2 separate regions of the Homo sapiens genome follow, and region 2 is linked to region 1. Evidence: promoter capture Hi-C in 16 types of primary human blood cells and fetal thymus (Javierre and others, 2016). All regions are on one chromosome and are shown on one strand. Each heading gives the region's core, a stretch centred on a gene start or on the middle of the fragment in contact. The rest is flanking DNA. Distances are from core to core; before and after follow the strand shown.

Evidence for each region. Contacts are between HindIII fragments. The CHiCAGO score rates a contact against its expected background, and 5 or more counts as called.
Region 2: a contact is called between a fragment that was not itself captured here and the fragment with the promoter of CDKN2AIPNL in region 1, in 5 of 17 cell types (endothelial precursors, naive CD4 T cells, megakaryocytes and 2 more). The highest score is 7.2, in endothelial precursors.

The regions. Positions count from the first base shown.
Region 1 is chr5:134,410,484-134,413,183 of GRCh38, forward strand. CDKN2AIPNL (CDKN2A interacting protein N-terminal like) reads right to left here and starts at 1,398. Exons shown (of 3, transcript NM_080656.3): 1 at 1,133-1,398. The coding sequence starts at 1,371. RefSeq lists enhancers at 790-1,528, 1,052-1,541, 1,529-2,266. The HindIII fragment of the contact is 16,822 bases long and covers 715-2,700 here.
Region 2 is chr5:134,519,261-134,521,960 of GRCh38, forward strand. No RefSeq gene overlaps it. Among named protein-coding and RNA genes, the nearest start is that of JADE2, 5.1 kb to the right of the region's middle. The HindIII fragment of the contact is 467 bases long and covers 1,210-1,676 here.

The DNA of each region.
Region 1 (2,700 bases), core at 148-2,647:
ATGTTTCAAGATTTAGAAGAACAGAGGCACTGTACATCCAGCAACAGATATTCTCAGATACAGGATGAGGACCAAAATATTTTTATTTTTTAAATACATGGAATGTTAGTCTAACAAAAACATTATTTATTTCCCCAATTCTCTGACATTTGCCTAACCATGGAAAACCAGGATTTCCCAGGAGCACCTAGAAGGCAGGGAAAAGGGACGGGTGCCTCTGGCATTGCTTCCCTACGTACTGTTCTAATAAACCCCAATATGTGAAGCAAAACCAAGTGGCTTAGGCCTGCAGGGGCCAAATGACCAGAGTCAGGCAGCCATAATAGGTATAGAAACCAAGATCAAACCAAGTCACCCTATTTTCCTAACACAATTTCAGGAAAATCGAAGCTCTCTAATAGGGAGTCTCAAGATTTGCCACCTTCCTCATGGAGGGGTGAAAGGAATGCCTTATCAGGCACTTCAAAAGCGGGCCTTTGTCCTTTTGGTGCTGCAGCCAGGATGAAGTGGGCTTTGAGACCTTCACAAAAAGGCATCGGCCATTTTCATAAGAGGGAAAGCAGAGAGGTGAAGCTGGTTCCTACTTAGGACCCCGTGGGCTGTGGAGTGAGGAGAAAAAGCCATAGGATACAGATTACATCCTCTCATTAGTGATTAAAATCCATCAATCCTGCCAGAAGCTGCATGGCCCCAGGTATATCACTTCTCTCCCTAAGCTTTTTCATCTGTAAAATGGGGATCTCCGTTTCTCTCTCTGCACGTTTGCCATGTAGGTGACAGGGGCTAACGGACTTCGAATGCATACTGCAAAGGTGATGGTTTGAGCTAATAATAATAGTAATACAAATAACAATAGCAACCTTTGAACCCGCCATGTATTTAGCTCTTCACCCTTTAATTATTACAGCCATCATAACCACCCTTTTACCAGAAGAGAAAACTGAGGCTCAAAGATAAGGATCTTTCCAAGGGGCCTCCAGGGTGGGAATCAGTCTTCGGGCCGACCAATGCGGATGGAGGTTGGGCCCGGGTTCAGTCTGGGGCAGAGGTTCGGGTCAGGGGTGAGCCCTGGGAGAGGCCTTGAGGGTCGGAAGATAGGGGACAGGATCAGCCGGCCGGCAGGGGTCCGCACCTGCAGCCTAGGAAGAGATGGTTGGCCCAGACCATGGAGAGGGAGAGCAGCTGGTCCAGGCGGCCACTGCCGTCGGGCGGGTCGCGGTAGTCGGGCAGGTGGCGCAGGATGAATTCCATGCGGGCCTTCCATTGCTTCTCGCTCTCTGAGTAGGAGCGGAACTGCTCCGCGAAGTCGGCCGCCTGCCGCACCCCCGAAACCAGCTCCTCCACTGCGGCAGCCGCCTCGCCACCGACCATGGTGCCCGCCGCAGCCGAGGACCGGATAGCCCGCCGCCTTCCCGACGCGCACTGCGCCACCGCCTGCCGGCCAGAGGGGCCCCATCAGCGCACGACTGCTCCAGAAGACCAACCTGGAGCGCCCTCGCCCGGAGCGGCGGCCTGCGGGGGCACAGAGCGGCTCCTGGCTCCTCAGACCGCCGCAGCCCGTGGCTCCTGCCCTGGGTCTACCCAGGGCTACAAGGGTCTTTTGCGGTCGACCCTGCGGGGAACCGGTGGGAAAACTGAGGTCCCTAAACACAGATTCGGAGCGCCCTCTTCCAGTTGGCAGCTGGATGCCAGCCAGAGCTATGCTGTGCCCTTGCCCTGAGAGTTTCCCGGGCACCGCCTCATCCTGAGCGACATCAGGGGGCCCGGGTCACGGTCGACTTCCAGGGGTCTCCACAGCCACGAAGGTTGGGGCCCGCCTTCCTGGAGCGAGTAATCCATCCATCCCGTGAATACTTGCCAGGCACATTGCTAGGTGCTGGAGAGGCAATGAGAGCACATTCGGAGCCCTGCTCGCCTGAACTTTACCATGGAGTGGAGGAGTGGACATTAGTGACATAATTGCTCAAGTAAATGGAGAATTTCAGCGTTGACAAGTATTAGTAAAGAGAAGTTCAGCGTGCTACAACCATGAATAAGCAAGGGACCCAATCTAGTCTTGGGGTCAGGGAAGTGATCCTGGAGAAGTGAAGAATGAGCAGTTTTCTGAGTAAAGGGGAGTCGGTCAAAGCAAGAGAGAGCATGGCCTGGTAAGAGAATTGCAAGATAGGGGGTAGGAGGGGTTGGGGGGCGGGGCAGGGCAGGTAGAGAATGGAGAAGATGAAGTTGCAGAGGTCAGCAAGGCCAGTAGGCCAGGCAGGGATCCTGGCTAGATCCCAAGAATGGGGAGCCGCTGAAGGATTTTAACCAGAACAGTGACACCTGTGTTTACAAAAGATGCTGGAAGGAGCCAGAAACAATGTGTCCAGAGGAAATGAGCAAGTTTGGACTTGGTTTTAAATAGAGACAGGGTTTCGCCATGTTGCCCAGGCTGGTCTCGAACTCCTGAGCTCAAGTGATCCGTCTCCCTCAGCCTCCCAAAATGCTGGGATTACAGGTATGAGCCATCGTAACTGGCTGGACCTGAAAGTTTTTATTTAGCTGGCATGACTCTGCTGTCTGTTCGAGTCTCAGGTAGCAGACACACTGAGAGAAAAAAGAGCTTCCTTTTAAGTGGTGAATTTTCCATCCCTGGAAGCATTCAACTACAGTAACTGGGTGTTGGGGCTCAGAAACCAACACCCCAAAATGTATTTTGACATG
Region 2 (2,700 bases), core at 193-2,692, 110 kb after region 1:
CTGCCCCAGACCTGCCTACTGAGAACCTCTGGGGATAAGGCTCAGATATCTGCAATTTTTGGCCGGGCACGGTGGTTCACGCCTGTAATCCCAGCACTTTGGGAAGCCAAGACGGGCGGATAATTTGAGGTCAGGAGTTCGAGACCTGGCCAACATGGTGAAACCCCATCTCTACTAAAAATACAAAAAGTACTTGGGTATGATGGTGGCACCTATAATCCCAGCTATTTAGGAGGCTGAGGCGGGAGAATCACTTGAACCCTGGAGGCAGAGGTTGCAGTGAGCCAAGATGGTGCCACTGCACTCCAGCGTGGGCGACAAGAGTGAGACTCCATCTCAAAAAAAAGGCTGGGGCCAGGTGCAGTGGCTTACGCCTGTAATCCCAGCACTTTGGGAGGCCGAGACGGGTGGATCACCTGAGGTCGGGAGTTCGAGACCAGCCTGGCCAACATGGAGAAACCCTGTCTCTACTAAAAATACAAAAATTAGCTGGGCATGGTGATGTGTACCTGTAATACCAGCAACTTGGGAGGCTGAGGCAGGAGAATCGCTTGAACCTGGGAGGCGGAGGTTGCAGTGAGCCCAGATCGTGCCACTGCGTTCCAGCCTGGGCGACAGAGCAAGAGTCTGTCTCAAAAAAAAAAAAAAAAAAAAAAAAAAAATCTGCATTTTTAACATGCATCCCATGCACCCCATCCACACTAAAGTTTGGAAATGATTGCATCCCTAGTTTACAGAGGAGGAGACTGAGGCACAGAGAAGTTGATTGACTTGTGCAAAGTAACAGAGCTGGAGAATGGTGGAGACAGGACTCAAACAAAGGATTGCCTGATTCTGGAATCCACAGTTTTAATCATATTGTCTATTACACTAGAAAAACTGATGTCCAGAGTGACTGTGTGTATTTAGTCATGTATATTGATTTGTGTGTATTTCGTGTGCCAACAAAGTTTGCTAGACTGTGACCCTTGGAAGGCAATTAATGTGTTTTATTTCTCTCAGTATTTGTAGCATCCATTACCATGCCTAGTACACAGAAGATCCTCAACAGAAGCTGTTTGAATTAAATTTCTACAGATACGTAGTTATCCATCTCTATAAACATTCACAGATAAATATATACAGAGGACATCTCATTTTCAGGTAGCATCTGAGAACAAGTTGTGACAACTAGAAACCTTCCCTCTCTATCTTGAACTATTTCAATCAAGCTTTTGCTAGCATTATTCCATTGACATGGCTCTTGTCAAGGTCACCAGTAACCTCCATGTTGATGATTCCAATGATCAATTCTCAGCCTCCAGCTTGTCTGACCCCTCCACAGCTTTGGACATAGGGCTTTCTTCCCTCCTGCAACTCTCTCTCACTTCCTTTGGCTTCCAGGATATTCCTATCTCTTTGAATGCTTTTTTTTTTCTTTAAACAACACTAACAACACTTTTGCTGATTCCTCTTCATCTTTCAGACATCTTTACCTTGCAGTGCTGAAGGGTACCATCCTTGAGCCCCTTCTCTTTCTATGTTCACTTAGTTGATGATCTCAAATTTAAATACCATCCATCTGCTCACTGACCACTCTCCAATGACATCTTCAGCCCAGACCTTGCCCCTGAGCTGAGGCTATCATGTCTAGCTGCCTGTCAATGGCTGCACTTGGATGTCAAATAGGCATCTCAAGCTTCATATGTCCAACACTGAGCTCCTAATCCCCTAAAACCTACTCCTTCCAGTTTCCTCCATCTCAGTTAAGGACAACTCCATCTTTCCATTGGTTCAAGGTAAAACACTTATCGTTGTCCTTGACTTCTTTCTTTTTCTCTCACTCCATCAGCAAATTCTGTCAGAGCTACCTTCAAAATGTAGATGACCGCTTTCCACCACTTCCATTGCTACCGCTCTGGTCCAATCATCTCTCACCTGGTTTATTCAGGTGGTCTCCCAACTGGCCTTCCTGCTTCAGCTTTGCCTCTTAAATCTGTTCTCCATGTAACAGCCAAGAGACCTGTTAAACCCAGGGTCAGATCATCTCAGTCCTCTGCTCAAAACTCTCCATATCACTCTAGCAAATGCCAAATTCCTAACAATGACCTAAAAGGCCCTATATAATCTCTTTCATTTACATATTAAGCATATTCCTGCCTCGGAGGCATTGCACTTGCTGGTCTCTTGAGACCTTGGTTCTTAACCTTTTTTGTGCATGTGCCATGGACTGTTTTGGCAGTCTGTGACACCTGTGGACTCCTTCTGAGTATAGTATCTTTAAATCCATAAAATAAGTTCCACAAATCATTAAGAAAACAAATTGTACTGAAATACAACTCTCGAAATATTTAAACATATATATGTGCTTCTCTATTAATTCATTAAATTATAAGAGTTAGCAGCATGATTTTGAAGTAGTGATGAGTAAAATGATACTTTTTCAATAAATTACTCATAAAGTGTAACGATATTTTAAGATATTTGCAACAACTCTAAAGTGATATGAAAATATCTGTGATTTCTACCAGCAGTAATGTCACAGGTGCTGCTAATATCACTGATTTGTTATCTGTATTCATAATTGAAGGACACGCTACATTTTAATTAGTGAAAATAAAGTTGTAATTTTTTTCTCACCTAAGGTCAAGATCCTCTGAATTCTATCCACAGACCCATGGAGAGGAGAGTCTATGGTCTCCAGGTTAAGAACGGCTGGCT